Linked DNA regions of Homo sapiens: all the other regions are linked to region 3. The links are contacts of gene promoters, found by promoter capture Hi-C in blood cells and fetal thymus (Javierre and others, 2016). All regions are on one chromosome and are shown on one strand. Each heading gives the region's core, a stretch centred on a gene start or on the middle of the fragment in contact. The rest is flanking DNA. Distances are from core to core; before and after follow the strand shown. Region 1 overlaps VWDE (von Willebrand factor D and EGF domains). Region 2 has its middle 45 kb from the start of C7orf78. Region 3 holds the start of THSD7A (thrombospondin type 1 domain containing 7A). Region 4 overlaps VWDE (von Willebrand factor D and EGF domains). Region 5 holds the start of LOC105375156 (a long non-coding RNA gene).

Region 1 (3,477 bases), core at 167-2,666, 530 kb before region 3:
GAGATTTGGGCGGAGACACAGAGCCAAACCAAATCAAAAACTATAGAAAGAAAGATGTTCACTTGCCCAAACTAAAATTAGAGTGCATATCCGTCTTTATTTTACATTGTGCTGAAGTTAAGTCTGTCTCTCCTAGCGCCAGTCTTGCCCAGTGCTGGGTTTTAAAGGCTCTTCTAGCCTTTAATTCATACCTCCAGTCAAGTCTGTTTAATGTGCCACTATTTTAGGATCCCCAACCCTACGAACATGGGCCCTGCTCAAAGCCTTGCATTCACTTTGTGTGGAATGTGCTCGCCCTGCCACTAAGCTAATGTCTTCTCCTAGCTCCCCTATTACATGTTCAGTCAACGTGAATCGATTCCTGCTCACCTTCTTAGTTCAAATTTCAGTTCCCTTCGAAGATTGGGTTCCTCTTTAAAATCTAGCATTTTGGAAATCAGGTCATGCAAAATCCTTAATGACTTCCCATTTTACGAAGTAATTTTTAAAAACTTTTATTTTGGAATAACTTGATACTCACAGAAAAATTGTAAAAATAATGCAGTTTCCAGTAATTCTTCACCCAGTTTCTCATAAAGTTAATATCTTATTTATAAACCATATTCATAAAATAATTATTCAAATCAGAAAATTCACCTCGATACAATACTATTAACAAATTTACAGACCTTGTTCTGTAAATTTACCAGTTGTCCAACTAATAATGGTCCTTTTCCTGATTCAGGATCTAATTTAAGATTTTATACTGCATTTTGTCATGTTTCTTCAGTCTCTTTCGTATTGTGACAGTGCTCCATCTTTCTTTATCTTTTGCACACTTGGCTCTTTTGAATATTGTGACGGTGCTCCATCTTTCTTCATCTTTTGCACACTTGGTTCTTTCGAAGAGCACTGGCCAGTTATTTTGTGGAATGTTCCTTTTTTATGGTTAGATTGAGGTCATGCCATGTTGTACAATTTTTAGTGCATCCTTTCATGATGCAATGTATCTAATCACGGGCAATGTAAATTTTGATCACTTACTTAAGGGGTTTTTGCCATGTATCTTCACTTTAAGCTCCCTGTTTTTCCCTTTTTAACTAATAAATACGTTGTAGGGAGACACTTTTAGATTATGCAAATATATGATAGCTCCTCAAACATTTTCTTCCTAATTTTAGCATCCAACTATAATTTTTGCTTGTAGCAATTATGACTATGGTATTTACCAGTGGTGATTTTCTATTTCCATCATTTCTTCTACACATATTATCTGGAATTCTACTGAAAGGAAGAGCTGTTCCTTGTTTCCAATTTATTTATTCATTTATTTACTCATGCCAGTGTAGACTAATGGAAACTTATTTCATGAATTATAACTCAATGCTATCATTCTTTATTTGGCTGTTTAAATTATTCTAGCTTTGACCATTGGGAACTATTACAAATTCGTTCACACGTCCTTTTAACTTGCTCCCATAATTTTTTGAACAATTTATCACATTCTGGCATCATATGATATTCCAGACTCATATTTTTCCTACCCCAACTCTAGAATCAACTGTTTCTCTAAAGACTGTAGTTCCATTTATCAAAGAGGGTCATTTAAAATCCAAGACTTGGGTGCAAGGTGTGCTTCTTGTTACAGGGTAGTTAATCCTTCTTGGCCCTTTTAATGGATACAGTTAGAAAATCTATGTATGTACACTTATACACACACGTAACTACCTATCTATCGGTTTATCTATCTGTCATCTCTGTGAGTTGATACTGATACTTCTGATTTCAGTGCAGTGCCATAAGGTTCATTCTAGCCTTCTCCTTTCCTTATTTGTAACTCTTTTCTTTACAAGTGAAAACTGGCTCTCATGATCCACAATATATTTACCTGGTTTCTCAATCTAAATGTATATGTAAGTCAGTTTCAGAAATTCTAAGCCTTTCCTCTGTAAAAAAACAAATTCATGAAACAAGGTCACAATATAAAGGCAGATACTGCTTTCCAAAGTGAGTTAGATTAACTATTTTCCACTCTGTTTAGAGTGGTTATCTGTTTTATTTATAATACAACTAGGTTTTAAAAATATTTGTCTTCCATTTTGAGTTTCTTCCACACTCTGGTTGATTATAATTATTTAATTATTTGGAGGGTATATGAAATATTATAGTTCTAAGAGTTGAAGCTATACAAAGGTATGCACATAGAATTGTTACTTTCTTGTCATCCCTGTCATCTGCTTTCCATCACTCCTTCTTTTCATTAAAGTATGTTTCTACTGTCATCATTTTCTGGTTAATCCTTACTATATTTCTTTGGTACAAAAAATGGATAGAAACTCTTTTTTTAATATAAAGTGTAACATATTTTACATGCTTTTTTCTACTTTTGTATTAGTAGTTTTAAGCAAGTCTTTAGCTAGAGATTCAACCACTTAAGCATTTCTTTCACTTCCTCCCCCAAAGCAGTCAAGACTCTACAAAATCCAATTTTAAGGTTGCTGATTTATAGGATTAAATACAGGATGTTAACCAAGAAATGGATGGCACATTATGATTTAGCTCTTGTCTATATTTGTAGGCTTGAACTTCCTGTTTATGCTGTTCCATGCATCCCTGTCTTTTTCATACACTATTCCCTCCATTCATGTGAATTGCACTCTTTCCACTTCTGCTCCCAGTGTCCAAATAGCAGTCTCCCTTTTTATTTTCAGGAAGAGAAGTGTTTGCTTTTTTGAAGGCTTCTTTGACTGTGCTAGTTAGTTAGACTTAATAACTCCTTTTGTATTATATCTTATTTGAGTCTCTTTTAATGCAATAATACAATTATATATTGTCTGTCATTTTCTTTGTGATCTTTTTTCACTGAGATATTTTCAGCACATAATATATACTCACAAAATATTGATGAATGAAAAGGAAATAGAACACTGTATATTCCTCATTTTGGGTAGGCCCCTTGAAATAGAAAGTTGGGAATAATCTCTATATTGCCAGTCATTAGCTGGAGCTTTCTTTCTGCACAAGAAACCGAGACTGTACATTCACCTAAGTGTAGATATCATGACTACTCTGAGAAATCATCATTCTTCTTCTACAAGAGGGAAACCACTGGTAGATCTGCTAGGCTAGACTCTCCATACTCCCTTAAATATGGAGATTTGCAGCTCACTCTTTCAATCATCAAATCTTCAAAAACGTAATTTCTGTTAGCTGCAGATTAGGGTGATCATGTTTTCCTTTCCCTTTCCTGCTGACCCACAATATTGAAGCATCAGCATGCTCTATGACAAATTCTGAGTGGTTGAAAACATTTGACAGTAATAAGTTTCAAAGAAAAATCTAAATCTAAATTTTGACAGCAAAATATAGCTTTTGGTTTCCTACGTAGTTATCCGTACCTGGAACATTATGCTGGCTTCTCTTCTTTTGGGACCAGTGCATTTTCATACTGAAAAACAATACTAAAAGTGTAGCTTAAGCATAATGTGTCACTGAGTT
Region 2 (3,425 bases), core at 430-2,929, 630 kb before region 3:
CACATTGGCCAGTCTGGTCTCGAACTCCTGACCTGGTGATCTGCCTGCCTCGGCCTCCCAAAGTGCTGGGATTACAGGCATGAGCCACCGTGCCCGGCCCTCTTTCTCTTTTTAAAAGCAGATCTCATCTAAATCTCATTACCTCCCAAAGGCCCCACTTCTTAATTTCATACCATTGAGGGTTAGGTTTCAACAAAAAATGATTTAAGGGGACACAAACCTGCAGTCCATAACAAGCAGGTAGTGTGGGTCAACTATGGTTTTGTTTTTAACAAATGTTTTGACTGTTCAAAGCCTCTTGCAATTCATATGAATTTGAGGATCATCTTTTCCACTTCTGCTAAAAAGCTGTGGCAGTTTGGATAGGGATTGCATTGAACCTGTAGATCACTTTGGATAGAGTTAATGTTTTAACAATATTAAGTCTTCTTACCTATGAGCATGAGTTGTTGCTCCATTTATTCAGTTTTTTCAAAATTTGTTTCAACAATGCTTTATAGTTTTCAAGTAAACTATAAAACAAAAGTTTTGCAAATTTTGGTTAAATTTATTTCCTAAATATGTATATTATTATTTAAATGCTATTGTAAATGAAATTGCTTTATTAATTTCCTTTTTGCATTGTTCACTGCAAATATTATAGGAACAAAATTGATTTTCGTCGTTTATTGATATTGTTCAACATTGCTAACCACATTTCTTAGCTCTAATAGCTTTCTTGTGATTTTTTTTGGGATTTTCTATATGCAGGATCATGTTATATGTAAATAGAGATAGTTTTACTTAATCCTTTCCAATTTGGATGCCTTTTCTTATCTAATTGTACTGGCTAGAACTACTAGTACAATAATGAATAGCAATGGTGAAAGCAGACATTCTTGTTATGTTCTTGAGCTTAAAACCATTTATGCCTAGTGTCCCATTATCGGAACACTAAGCATATGGGAATAATTTATATCCAACTGCTCAAGGTTATTGTCAAGGTCTGATTGCAAAAATTCAAAAAGTTGCAACCTCAGGCATAAATGGGTTATGGAGAAAGCTTTCAGTCTTTCCCCATTGAGTATGATGTTAGCTGTGGGTTTACTCCTGATCATGTTTATGGGAATATTAATTATTATTGCATTCCAGAAACTTATTTGGCAATATCAACACAATTAAAAATAAAAAATGCTTTGGAGTCTCTGTTTATATATGATTTCCACAGAGAGAAAAAGACCATTTTTTTTTCTTAAAGACAATTTCTCCAGATAAATTGTAAAGTATCTGTGTGATGAAACTCTGAGGGAGGGGGCTCTCAGAAACTGGTATTAACTTGTTTATCTATAAAGAATAAAATGTTGATTGGATTGTGGTTGTGGAATACTTTGTATCTATTAAAAATAAGTTAGATGTACACATATGAACCCGGAGGAATGTATAGTATCTGTTTTAAGGTAGAAAACTATTTTACACAAATTAAGACAACACTAGCTCATTTTTTAAAAAATGAACCAAAACCACCTCAAATTCCTGTGTGTGTGTGTGTGTGTGTGTGCACTTTTTATGAGTGTGTATAAATATGGAGAAGGATGCATGTCACGTGGTAAGGATTGGTTACCTAGGAAATAGAAGAATGGAAAGAATTTGGTAACTTTTGTCATTTTTTTTTAGAGTATTCTGTATTATGGTACAAATACTTCATAGGACATATATAGATAATACATCCTATGTAATAATATGTAAAAAATAATTAACATGTATTAGAAATAAATTGAAAAATAATTCAGGAAAAGCCGTATAGAATGGGTGATAGGTACTTCGGGAACAGCCAAGAGAGAGGTTTGTCCAGAGAAAAATATATTACCAAAACCAAATTTAATCAACTTCATTGTTATTCTCAGCTACCAGCAAACAGATGTAGAGACCAACACAACGGCACTTACAAAAGTCTGGAAGGAGTGAGACAATGAGGTATGTAGGGACCCTGGGGATATTGAGTAATTAAGACAGAAACACTCACTTAAGGAGCTCCCAAGTTAATAGATTGTATTTTCTTCCCTTGCTTAGTATTTTTGGATAGATATAGATATCCTCCTATCTATGCACAGCCCATTTTCCCCCTAATTTTAGGGGCTTGCTGCCACCTATGGATAAGAATAGAGTATTACAATTTGCACCAACACACCCTAACATCCACCAGTGAGCTAGATAACTGTGGATATCAGAGGAGGCTTGAGTTTGATGTATTTTAGTTCGGTTCAACTCAAACAATATTCATTATCATTATTAAACACCAAGTTAGGTATTGGATCTTCATAAATAAATAAAGCTTTGGAGTTAATGAATTATTGAACTCAATGAGTTCATAGCTTAGTAGGTAAGATAAAGTTGGATATAATTTTAATACCCTGAAGTTAACACAAATGTATAATGAGGTAGGAGTGGAGTTCAGTTTTAATGATATATAAGTGTGAAACAGGAAGTGTGAGGAGTAGAGTCTGAGAATTTACAAAGCTCAAATCATGGAAAACTGTGTGTGCTGTGGGTGGTATATGTGAAGTCCTGGACATGCTGGGTTCAGAGGTTGGTTATATGGATCTTAGGCTCAGTTAGAAGATCAGGACTGGGGATACACATTTATGATTTGGTGGGTAAGAATAATAAATAGGCCATGGGACAGAATGAATCATGCAAGAAACGATGTAGACAAAGTGAAAAAAGAGCAATGGACAGAGAAGTTAACAGCATATTAATTAGGAGTCAAATGAGCGAGTAATCTACCAGAAAATGGTTTATAAGGGTAAAACAAGAGCTCTTAATGGCACTGAGCTGAAATTTTAAATTATTTGTTCCTATGTCTCAGGATCCTTAAGAAAATTTAGGCTGGCCTTGGTGGCTCACACCTGTAATCCCAGCACTTTGGGAGGCCAAGGTGGGCGGATCACTTGGGGTCAGAAGTTCGAGACTAGCCTGGCCAACATGGTGAAACCCTGTCTCTGCTAAAAATACAAAAATTAGCTGGGCGTGGTAGCACATGCCTGTAGTCGCAGTTACTTGGGAGGCTGAGGCAGGAGAATTGCTTGAACCTGGAAGGAGGAGGTTGCAGTGAGTCGAGATTGCACCACTGCACTCCATCCAGCCTGGATGACAGAGGGGGACTCCATCTCAAAAATAAAAAAATAAAAAGGGAAGAAGAATTTAATAAAATCACATGTGTGCTTGTGGAGAAAAAGACAAAATACCAGCATAAAACAATGCATCAGGTTTTCTGATTTCCACTGAACTTAAACTATAGAATATATAAAAATAATATATTCACTAGAATATATAACATTAACTAATAGTAGTATAATGAGCATAGTATTAAGTTTTGGGAGTTAATATGCCTCATACAATCAACTGTAGAATATAAGATCAGTATTAACTGGTATTTATGCCTTCCC
Region 3 (3,781 bases), core at 746-3,245:
CTAGGTAAATGACCTTGCACATTAACTTAATTCCTCAGACTCTCTGTCCTCTGTTATATAATGAATTCCCACTTGGTGAATTGATTGGCGCTTCCCACGAATGCGTAGAATGGCTGCTGTTAGCAGAGTATGTCCAGTTTGAAATACTTCCTGTGCCAGAGTTAGAGGATTTCAAGGTTTAGGGCACTAACAGTAGCTGAGAAATACAAGCAGAAAGGATGGGAAAATGATTCCTTGTGGAGTGGACATGGAAATTTTCCTGAAACGACAGAACCCAGGAAGCAATAGCAGGTCCCATTTCCTTCTGTGGTGTAACTGTCAAAAGAAGTGATCCTTCAGGGAACCATACATTAGTTAAGATCAGGCTTCCTTTTTATTCCTTATCAACCTATAATCTTTTGATTGTTGCCTGTTTTTCACGAGTGAAGAAATAGTAAGCCACACTAGCTTATCTCTCCTAATCACAGACTCACAGCGCTCGGGCTCTCTGAGCTTTTAATTCCTTCTTAGAGGCCTAACAGAGCGGAAAGTAAACAAAGACCAAATTTGCAACCTTCAACGTAGCTAATTTCCTCTGATGTCAGAATACTTAAACAGGCAGGACCTGGGAATTATTTGATCAAACCCGCTTTTAATCTAATGCATGCAGAGGGGCTGTGTCTGGAAGGCTTTGCAAAATGACAAGGGTCCCAAGGGAGCCTTATGGAAGGTTTCCTCTTTCAGAAAGAGTAGCTTCCTCATCTTAAACTCTAGGGTAGCTATGTTGGAGTAAATTCATAAAAAGTAGTTTTCCTGCTTTTAAAATTTTATTTTATTTGGCTGAAAATTGCTGATGGGATAGTAGTTTTCTTTGGCTTTCCGTTTGCTGAATTTTTAATGGTTAAATGCCTACTATTTTAGCTTTACTGTGAAATGAATTAATAATAAAATATATTATTATTAGCTAAAGGGAGAAGGAGAAAGGGGAAAGCATTATCCGACTTCACACACATTCTTCTATTACTACTGGTAGAAGAAAGTGAAAACACAAAGGACAAAAGATGCAAACACATGTGGTTCCTTATTTAGATTGCGACAGGCATTTTGCTACAGTAAGAGTTAAGAAAAATCGGTGTCAGGGAAATTTTAAATGAAGAATTTACTAATTCCAAGATATCCAGACAGCATTACTGACTCAGTTTGACTCACAACTATCTGAATACTTAGAAGTAGCATATTTTTGAGGGAAAGAAGTAGATGAAGGGACAGAACTCTATACCTGAAATATAATTTTAATTTTAAGGGTTTTTTTTTTGTACAATTGTATTTATGTAATTAGGTAGCATTGCAAATACTCATTAACACTAATTCAGTTTTAAAGGCTATTAAAAGACAATTTAATTTGTCACAGAGCATCAATATTGCTCATATTTTTATTGATAATAGATTAAGTTAAAAACAACATTTAAAGAAGGGTTTAAGTGCATTTTGACAAGTCAACATTTCTGCTCTCGTGTTTTCACACCTGATCTCAAATACTGCTCCCCACACAAAGTAATTCAGAAGCCATGGCTTAAAAATAGATAATAAACACTGATGCTTTGTGTAAATACGTACTAAGAATAGCATGCCACTAGATCTAGCATTTGACTCCTTGGATGACAGTGAATATCAATGCCTGTTATTTGTCATTCTGAAATCTGCCGGGTGATGATTCTTTTTATTGGTGCATCCTTCCAAACATATTTCATCGCACCATGTGCACCGGAGTTCTTTAGGCGGGTATGTCGGAGGTGGGTGTCGCCTGGCTGGCCCCTCTCCCCTTTGCTCGCCCCCTTTCTCGCCCTCGCGCTCTCGCCTCCCTCTGCCTCCAGCCCCCTCTGCTCCTTTGGGCTCACGCCCCCCTCCTCCCCCTCCAGCTGGCGGGGGCTGCGCTGCCTCCCAGACCTAGCAGACCTGCTCAGTCAGCTGGGGCCCCCTGAGGACAGTTGCCTCCGGAGCCGCCGGGACCTGCCATTCTGCGAGGAATGGCAGCGGCAGCAGCATCCCCGCCAGAGGCGGCGGCGGCGGCGGCAGCGGCCACGGCCACCACCGCGGACGCTATTGTTCCCTGGTGTTAGACGCGCTCTCCCTCCTTCTCATCTGAAGCGAACAATAGCAGGAAAGAGCTTTGCTTTCTGTACTCTTTGAAAAGACGTTCCAAGAGCGGAGAAAAATTCCCTGCCGAGCGTGCTACGGCTCTGGACCCTGGAGTGGCTGCAGGCGGCATGGGGCTGCAAGCCAGGCGCTGGGCGTCCGGGAGCCGGGGCGCTGCGGGGCCGCGCCGGGGCGTCCTGCAGCTGCTGCCGCTGCCGCTGCCGCTGCCGCTGCTCCTGCTGCTGCTGCTACGCCCGGGCGCCGGCAGGGCTGCGGCGCAGGGCGAGGCGGAGGCGCCCACCCTCTATCTGTGGAAGACTGGTAAGTGGGACGGAGTTACCCTTTCCCCATCTTCACATCTGGGGCCACATTAAGGAGCTGGTGGGCTTCTGTAGGGACCCCGGTGCTTTTGGATGGCTTGGTTATGCTGGTATCCTAAGGTAAAAAGTATGATTTCTTAGGAAGCAAATAGGTCATGTCCGATGCAATTAGGAAAGAAAAGCATAACAACTAAGAGGCAACAGTGAGTAGCTGGAATATTTCTCTCGCAGCTCTGTAATGAGGGCAACGCGCACTTCCATGATGAAGTGCATTATTTTTAACCCCTGGATTTTCATTCTACTAGGAGTTTCTCAAACAGATTTCTAGCAAAGAACAAGCAAAGAGTTTAGTCTCAGTCTTTATTCTTTAGGCAAAGCAATATGCTCACTGTCATGACATTTGTGGATATAGAGTTGAATTTGTTAACTTTAGCTTTGTGATATGTGGGACACCTCAGAAACAAGCCAAGTGAGGGCGGTTCCAACAATTAAAGGCAAATGGGGCTCCAGTGAGCCTTCAGGGAAAGACTGAAAACTCAATTATTAACTAGCGAGTCGGAGGATTTTTAAAGTGTACAACTTTTAGGATGTCTGGGTTCAAACTTTCTCTTCCTTCCTTGAGAATTGTTTTGCTTTGTTTTTCAACCACCCAACAAAAGCAGCTACTAACTGCCCATCATTACCCATTGGCAAAATGCTTGGAGTTTCTGGCGGGGGCCGTGACAGGCAGGAAAACAATACGGAGTGAGGAATTACCAACCCCTTTTCTGCGGGTTCGCTTTCTCTCTGCATTAAAAAAACATTGAGAATTCCTTAGGGGACCTGAAACTTCACATGTTCATAGGAATAAAATGGGAAAAGATTATTCCTGTTGCTTAGAGCTAGGGGGTAATTTAAGAATAACTTGGTCATGCCAAACATTAAGAGAATGTTGTAGTTGAAAGGGAAAGTATGTATTCGTCATGGGGTTGCAAACAGGTTTCAGGGAGTGAGTGTCTTTTCCTGCTTCAGCCCATCTCTGCACCACTACTGAAGAGACAGCTCAGTCTACTCTACAATTGCATCACTATCGATATCTGGAATTTTTAAAGAAGTTGCAGCTATCCAGAAATTTAGTGAGGAGATTAAACAGAAATTTATTTAAAGTCAAAGTACACAATTTGTCTTAGAAGATTACATGAAACATATACACATTTTAAAAAGCAAGATTATTCTTGCTAACACCTTAAGTTTGAAGATCAGTTGAGTAATGAATTCAAATGAAATAAAATTAATTTACTTCAATTTGAAACGAAGATTTGAAGATCTCTAATTTAGCGTAAGCTAGGGTTTTACTTGTTAAAAGC
Region 4 (3,782 bases), core at 1-2,500, 560 kb before region 3:
CGAATTAAATGAAAATAAAGTTCTTAAAGCTTAAGTGTTTCAAAAGTACATTCTAAAGAGTTTTGTTGATTTGTTTATCGCATTTATGAAACATGCAAGTTAGTTAAGTCATTTATGACTTACTAAGAGACCCTGACATTTCAGAGGGTCTTTATGTGCAATAGTGAGTTTATTTGCTTTATTTTTTGTTTTGGGAATCAATTTTAATTGAGGACCGAACTATGTCAACAAACAAAACACATTACATAAAAACACCTGTCTTTCCATACTAGCTCAGGAGTGCTCTCCTGGGGGACACCAGTTTCTTCGGAGTCCTTATAGAAGTGTCCGTTTTGACTCATGGCACCTCCAGCAGTCAGCTGTTCAAGACCTAATATGTGACCATTCCCTCTCCCCTGGATGGTATAGATTTCTCATCCTTGACAGACCTGCCGAGATGCCAACCAAATGTGTTGAGGTATGTCAACTCCCTAAGTACTGCATGTTATTTTCCTTATGTGTTTTTCATATGAGAATTGTATCTTTTTACCACCAGCTTATTTCTCATGCTAAAATGTTGTTTTAATTTTGTATTGAGTTAATCTGAAAGACTATTCCCACATTACCTAGTCTAATAATAATAGTAATTGTTAGTGTTATGCTCCATGCAGTCCAGAAACACTTTCACCGACAATATCTTGTATAAAAGTTTACAACTGTAGCATACAATCTATCATCATTTCCATCAAACAGTGCAGAAAACATATATTCTTAGGCATAGTGCTCTTACAGTCACAGGTAGCAGGTCAAAAAGCTGAGTTTTGAATACAGGCAGTCGTTCTCCAGGGCTCAGGTGCTTAGCTGTATTACCTGCAAATAGTAAAATACTGTGTGTCTAAAGTGCTTGTTTTTGTCAGTTGTTACCTGTCACTTCATTTCTTAACTGATGGAGTAAAACTTACGGGCTCAGCACCTCCTATTCTAAGACTAATAAGAACTCAGCCTGGCAGTGAAATCTCCAGGTATTTTCTGATCACAATTGAAAGACAGTGTACCTGCAGGACATTCAATACTCTGGAGGCATATGGCCTTATCTCACTGAATCTCTCTCCTCAATCCCCAAATTTGTGCAGCCAGCATACCTTTTTTTCTTTATACTTGTGAATATGTAAGTGTATGTCTTTCAAACACATCAGGTTTAAATGGACAAAATTAAAAAGGTTTTGTACATGAACTCACATCGGATGTGTTTTTTTTTTTTTTGCAACTTAACTTTACGTAACGTTCACTCTTTTTACAACACGATATGATTGTGATCATAGCATTGTCTTGTATAGTGAACTAGCCCAAGTGGCTTCTTTCATTCTTATTTCATTTGACAAATACATTTTCTTCCAAAATGCTTCAAAAAATAAGCAGAAGAAAAAACATAAAGTGTGATTTCTTGGGTTGTCCCTCAGCTATCTTGCATTACTTATCCAAGCCACTCTGAATTTCTATTGACAATTCTACTTATCCTTGGCATGATTTTCAAATGCAAGTTCCCCTAATTCGTTCATAGTCCCCATTCATCTAATGATACTGTCATGAAATAGACATTATTTCTACTTATCATACTTCGACCAGTTATCCTGTCAGTTCAACTCTTATTATTGATACCACATTTTTATCCACATGATCTAAGGAATGAGACTAAGTCTAAATCTGTCAAAACACTAAGCCCATTAACTCAGCATCCTAAGTTATATGATCAAAATGGTAAGAAGGGTTTTAATCTGACGTTTATTTTGCAGCTTATAAATTCCCTGCACTTGCGGACATTATTGCATATGTAAACTCACTAGTTCTCTCAGTGATGCTTTTAGGTAGCTAGTGTTACTTCATTATAAAGATGTGGACACAGACACTAAGCATGAGTCACATGACCAAAGTCATGTACCTGATCTTCTCCCTTATCACAATCTTTCTCAGCTGACTGGTTTCCCAAGTGAGTTCTGCATAAATAGGTGTTCAGTTGTGATAGGTAGCTAATAGAGGCATTGTATTATTGAAGACATATGTCTGTGTCATGCTTCCCAAATTACTAACGTGTTCATCATCACTCACAATTTTACCCTATATAATTATACACTTTTTGGGTGTGAGTTCATTCTTAAAGTCGATTTTCTTTTAACCTAGAGGTCATGCAACTACCATTGGCCCCTGGAGAGAGATCACATCATATAAGATTATGTCTTAGCAAAAGGCTTGTTTTCCTTATTGTTATTCACATTTTATAAATACTGCAGACACAGGAATCATTTTCCTTTTTAAGCACTAATGTAAAAAGATCTCTGGAAAGACATTGAAATTTTAACAGTGTTTAATTTTAATGTGTGGCATTGTGGCTAAGTCTCATTATCTCTTTTTTGTTTATTTGCTCATTAGTCGCTTTTGTGACACTTCATTTGTAAAGAACTAAAAAAAATTCAGAATTTAAAAGAAAAGCTTGAGAAAATTGGAGGAACTTCACCACATTTAAAAATATTTGTGTTTTTCTCTTAAGGCTGATTTAGCTATAATTGTTTCTAGAACCTCACACGAATGTGTAGGTGAAACAGTTTCCTTGGCTGTTTTCCTGGAGATCAGCTAACCTGAGCAGGCTGTGCTCCAGGAGGAAGTGTTCCCTATCCCCACCCTCTCATTCCTTTTTTGTACTAAGGCTTTAAAGTATTCAACCAGAAAATCAATAGATTTTTTTTCTCTACAGGTTAATACACGTGGACTTACATAAATTACTATTTGTAATGTTTTAAATAATGCTTATGCATTACATAAAGCTTAGGAAATAAAGAACAGGAATGGAACAACATTTCTTCATAATCTATCCACACAGTCATAACTACTGTTATTAACATTTTGCTATTGTTTTATCTTATTTATATTTCGTAATGTTCATGTTATATGTTCAATTGAAAAACATGCTATTCTTTTTCAGTTACAGTTATAGCATTATCATTTTCCTATTATTATAAATTCATTTTCATAATTTTTGAAAATAATATTATGTCATACATGTATCATATTTATTTAAACCATCACCATATGTGTGGACATTCAGGATTTTGCTATAATAAGTAATTCTGCAATTGACGAATGTACATGTAATTATTGTTTTAATTTTAGTGTCTTTAGTAAGATTGATTTTTATAAGTTAAATTAGTAATGGTTAAAGTCTTTTTGAGGCTTTTGATACATATAGTTGTTCATTTAAAACATAGTGATAATTTTTAATTCCAATAGCAGTACATAAACATACCTTTTGCAATACTGAATATTCTCATGTATTTATTAGGCATTTGTGTTTCTTTTGTGAATTACCTATTTGTACATTTTGCCCATTTGTAGTCTTAGAGTTTTTAAATGGATAATATTACATGGTTAAAATAAAATAACAAATATAGTATAATTATACATAAATATAACACAATATAGTACTATTTACATATAATTTTATTATTTAACTTTTATATTTTAAAAATTATAATTCAATCACATATATCAATATTTCCTTTATGTTTTTCCTTTGCTTTGAAGCATAGAAATAATAACAAGAATTATAACCTGGCTAACGATTTTTTAGCCATTACTATGTAGAAGTTGCATTATATACATTACTTTATCTATACCTCACTATGGCACTTTGAGGTGGGTACCACTTCCACCTAATATAAAAGAGAAGGATGTTGAGTGCCTTGTCCAAGATCATGCATTTAGTAAGGGCCCTGGTTCTTCCCAAGTCATACATAGTTTCTTCTTATTTT
Region 5 (3,865 bases), core at 531-3,030, 660 kb before region 3:
TCTTTTTGTTTGTCTGTGCCCTGCCCCCAGAGGTGGAGCCTACAGAGGCAGGCAGGCCTCCTTGAGCTGTGGTGGGCTCCACCCAGTTCGAGCTTCCCAGCTGCTTTGTTTACCTAATCAAGCCTGGGCAATGGTGGGCGCCCCTCCCCCAGCCTCGCTGCCGCCTTGCAGTTTGATCTCAGACTGCTGTGCTAGCAATCAGCGAGACTCCGTGGGGTAGGACCCTCCGAGCCGGGTGCAGGGTATAATCTCATGGTGCACCGTTTTTTAAGCCCGTGGGAAAAGCGCAGTATTCGAGTGGGAGTGACCCGATTTTCCCGATTCTCCAGGTGCCGTCCGTCACCCCTTTCTTTGATTAGGAAAGGGAACTCCCTGACCCCTTGCGCTTCCCGAGTGAGGCAATGCCTCGCCCTGCTTCTGCTCGCGCACGGTGTGCGCACTCACTGACCTGTGCCCACTGTCTGGCACTCTCTAGTGAGATGAACCCGGTACCTTAGATGGAAATGCAGAAATCACCCGTCTTCTGCGTCGCTCAGGCTGGGAGCTGTAGACCGGAGCTGTTCCTATTCGGCCATCTTGGCTCCTCCCCCCGCCATAAATAATTTTGATTTTTTTCTTTACAGTTTATTTGATTCGGGCTAGTTACTTACTCTTCTTTGGTCCAAAATCTCCTATGACTTGGGTATTAACTTCTCTTCTAATATTTTTCTAACGGAATATAAAATTTCCTAGACAAAGATCCACAATGGCTGGAGTCTTTCTTTTAACTGTTCATTTTATTTAAAGTGAAAGTTTGCCACCAGGTGGCAGTAAATTACTTATAATTTTGTCCTAGTTTATAAACTAAGAAGCCAAAATTTTTTCTGTATTATTTTCCCTGATGTTCAATTTTAAGGTGTTTTTATTTCTAATGAAAACGGCAGTAAAGTTGAATTGACTAAATCTCTTATAGTTTTGGAAATAGAATTAACCTATCTTTATGCTATCTGATTTATGCCTCATTGTTTTTTGCATAGAGATACATATGGTTCTTTATCAAAAGCATATATACAAATACCTACTTATGTTTAGTTCACTGTTATTAGTTGTTTAGGGTACAAAAATAGATTATGACTCCAGATTTCAAGTAAATTATAAGTAATTGGCTAGAAAAGATACAAACCTATAAGAATACATCACGAGATAAGGTGCTAAATGCCAAGTGATTTGTCCTGACGGTTACTCTCATGAGAAATTAGTGAGAGGAAGGTCTCTGAAGCTTGAGAATGTCTCCAAAGATTTCTTAGAGCATCTGAGATCATTACTAACCCTTGATGACAGTAGAGTACTTAATAAAAGGGGAGAAGAAGGGAAAGGAGTTTGGATGGACGAACAGCATAAGCAACATTCTGGAATTTTCTTTAATGCTCTCATGAATGCATTCTTGGAATTTTCTAATATGTAAACATTATTTTGTGGCCAACTGACTTCAATTATATGTAGAACCATCCAAAAGTCTCCTCTCAGGTAGGTAATTCTGAATGTATATTTCTGAATTTCCAAATTAGAAATTTAGAGTTAGAAATTTTGAGTTTCTCAGCCAGACGAGGTGGCTCACGCCTGTATTCCCAGCACTTTGGGAGGCCGAGGGCGGCGGATCACGAGGTCAGGAGATCGAGACCATCCTGGCTAACACGGTGAAACCCCGTCTCTACTAAAAATACAAAAAATTAGCCAGGTGTGGTGGCGGGCACCTGTAGTTGCACCTACTCTGGAGGCTGAGGCAAGAGAATGGCGTGAACCCGGGAGGCAGAGCTTGCAGTGAGCCGAGATCACGCCACTGCAGTCTGGCTTGGGCGAAAGAGTGAGACTCCGTCTCAAAAAAAAAAAAAATTTTTTTTGAGTTTCTCAGCTCCACAAATTTGGGAACGCAACAAGTTGTGGCAAATGAAAACCTCAACACTCTGATTTCTGTATTTCTAGGCATTAAGGAACATGAACGCTTTTAAGTAAGTTATTTGAATTACATATGTTTGTATAAATGGAATAACTTAAAATTTACTGTGGTAATAATTTTTTCATAGAACAGATAATTGCAACTTGAAATATTCTATAAGTTAAAAAAGAAGTAAAATAGGCTTTAAATAGTGTTCCGAAAAAGAAAATAAAAACAAGAGACTTTCTTTACTTGGAAAAAATAAGTAATATCAACTAATGCCATAATGTAGCTAAACAGTCTAACTCCTATTTTGTCTCTTTCTCTTTCAAAGGGGATTTCCAAACTGGAAATAACCAACACAACTAGGTAAGAATTGAAGCTTAAGAAAGGTGAGAGGATAGTAAAATAACATATTTACATAAATTCAGGTTCATAAAGCCATATTAATTACATATCAGCACAATAAGACGACTGGCAGTGGGAAATGAGCTGGCACCCTTTGGAAACCTATTGGGAAGGTGAGGTGCTTTAAGACTGGACATTGGAGATTAGACATGCCTGAATTTAATCCTTGAAAGAGCTGTGCAAAACAGCCACTTTGTGGCCACCATCTGACATGTCACACAGTGTGGGATAGGGAATAGACTTTCATGAGTAACAAATTTACAGCGTAAGATGAGGAAAAAAAATGAGTGTGTTTGTGTGGTCTAATCCTTTTAATATCCCCCGGATGAATGACCAGGCCCAGGACACTCTGTTGGACACATGGTGGGTGAACATTTTGGGTGGTAAGAATTCCTCCTCTTGACATTCTCCTTTACCACAGAGCAAGCCTGAGAGCAATTTTATCAATGGGAGAAGACGGGCAGAACAGACTGACTAACAGGTTATCTGGGCACCATCTTTACTGAGTTTGGATGTCAACTGTGCGTGGAGGTGTTGTTTGGGAAAAGTTGTCTATCGGTACCTGGTGACTTTGGGGACCTGTGTGAAGTTGCATTCCTCTTTTTCAAGGGAAAGGGCTAACAGTTCAGTGGTAGGTTGAGTTTGAAAGCAGCCTTACCACTAGGAGGAGGTAGCAGCCCCAAATTCTAATTTTCTCAGTGATGAGGCAGCCAAAGGTGAGCTCTCAATGTCATTTTAGGACAGTCATGCTTATTGCACCACAGAACCTCAATAAATTCTAGAATATGTATTTCTAAACAGATGATCAGTTATTGCTGTAGGGAAATAGAGGTCAATTCACAGTGATTTGTTTACAAAGTAGGGCTATGCATGAGTAAAATACACCTAATAATGTACGATGCTATCATATTGTGCCTATAATAAATTTGGCTGCTTGTCAAGTCTGAGGTTGTCTGTGTCAGCACTTCTGATGTTCAGAGCTTGCTTGTTAATTTGTGTTTTTTCTCTCCCTTTTTTCTAAGGAGCCTCTTAAATTTATTATGGTTAGACACCTCCTTCTTCAATTATCTATGTTCAAGTCACAGAGATTAAAATATGCTCCCTTGACTAAGTGGGAGTGATACTTCAGAGAAGGAATTATCTTGTTCCATATTTACTTACCAGGTCAAGCATCCATCATGCACCATGTACACCACAGTGCACCACAGCTGAGACCAGTGTGGATCCCACCATCAGCAGCTTTTCCAAAGGACCCAGGCAAAATGGTCAATATTGCCTTCTCTCCTCACTTTTACCTCACCTTTCAGCCTCTTGGTCCCTTCCTCCACTCCCACCCTAAGATGCTTATAGTCTATTTGTCATCCTCCAGTGGTTTATAATTCCTGTTTCACTACCTTATTTAGCCTGTTGCCTTTTACAGCATTCCAAAATGCTCATTTATTCTCTTTTATGACTCATCCAATACTAACCCTATTTACCATTCTAAACTGAAGTAGACTGCACCTCTTTTTCTCAAGTACTAATGTAGAATTTCAGTTTTAT

What was found. Contacts are between HindIII fragments. The CHiCAGO score rates a contact against its expected background, and 5 or more counts as called.
Region 1: a fragment that was not itself captured here is called in contact with the fragment with the promoter of THSD7A in region 3 in 1 of 17 cell types (M2 macrophages); the score reaches 5.3 in M2 macrophages.
Region 2: a fragment that was not itself captured here is called in contact with the fragment with the promoter of THSD7A in region 3 in 1 of 17 cell types (megakaryocytes); the score reaches 5.2 in megakaryocytes.
Region 4: a fragment that was not itself captured here is called in contact with the fragment with the promoter of THSD7A in region 3 in 1 of 17 cell types (M1 macrophages); the score reaches 5.1 in M1 macrophages.
Region 5: a contact is called between a fragment that was not itself captured here and the fragment with the promoter of THSD7A in region 3, in 5 of 17 cell types (M2 macrophages, megakaryocytes, M1 macrophages and 2 more). The highest score is 9.6, in M2 macrophages.

Annotation. Positions count from the first base shown.
Region 1 is chr7:12,362,436-12,365,912 of GRCh38, reverse strand. All of the region lies in intron 13 of VWDE (von Willebrand factor D and EGF domains), which reads left to right. Among named protein-coding and RNA genes, the nearest start is that of VWDE, 40 kb to the left of the region's middle. The HindIII fragment of the contact is 5,208 bases long and covers 1-3,477 here.
Region 2 is chr7:12,457,413-12,460,837 of GRCh38, reverse strand. No RefSeq gene overlaps it. Among named protein-coding and RNA genes, the nearest start is that of C7orf78, 45 kb to the left of the region's middle. The HindIII fragment of the contact is 1,269 bases long and covers 1,045-2,313 here.
Region 3 is chr7:11,830,412-11,834,192 of GRCh38, reverse strand. THSD7A (thrombospondin type 1 domain containing 7A) reads left to right here and starts at 1,995. Exons shown (of 28, transcript NM_015204.3): 1 at 1,995-2,436. The coding sequence starts at 2,247. RefSeq lists enhancers at 1,318-1,857, 1,858-2,398. The HindIII fragment of the contact is 6,451 bases long and covers 1-3,781 here.
Region 4 is chr7:12,390,269-12,394,050 of GRCh38, reverse strand. It overlaps VWDE (von Willebrand factor D and EGF domains), which reads left to right. Exons shown (of 29, transcript NM_001135924.3): 2 at 273-457. Among named protein-coding and RNA genes, the nearest start is that of VWDE, 12 kb to the left of the region's middle. The HindIII fragment of the contact is 2,437 bases long and covers 32-2,468 here.
Region 5 is chr7:12,493,937-12,497,801 of GRCh38, reverse strand. It overlaps LOC105375156 (a long non-coding RNA gene), which reads left to right and starts at 1,291. Exons shown (of 8, transcript XR_001745093.2): 1 at 1,291-1,506; 2 at 1,963-1,988; 3 at 2,250-2,284; 4 at 3,488-3,588. It also overlaps a transcript of C7orf78 not described here. RefSeq lists an enhancer at 252-880. The HindIII fragment of the contact is 1,039 bases long and covers 1,261-2,299 here.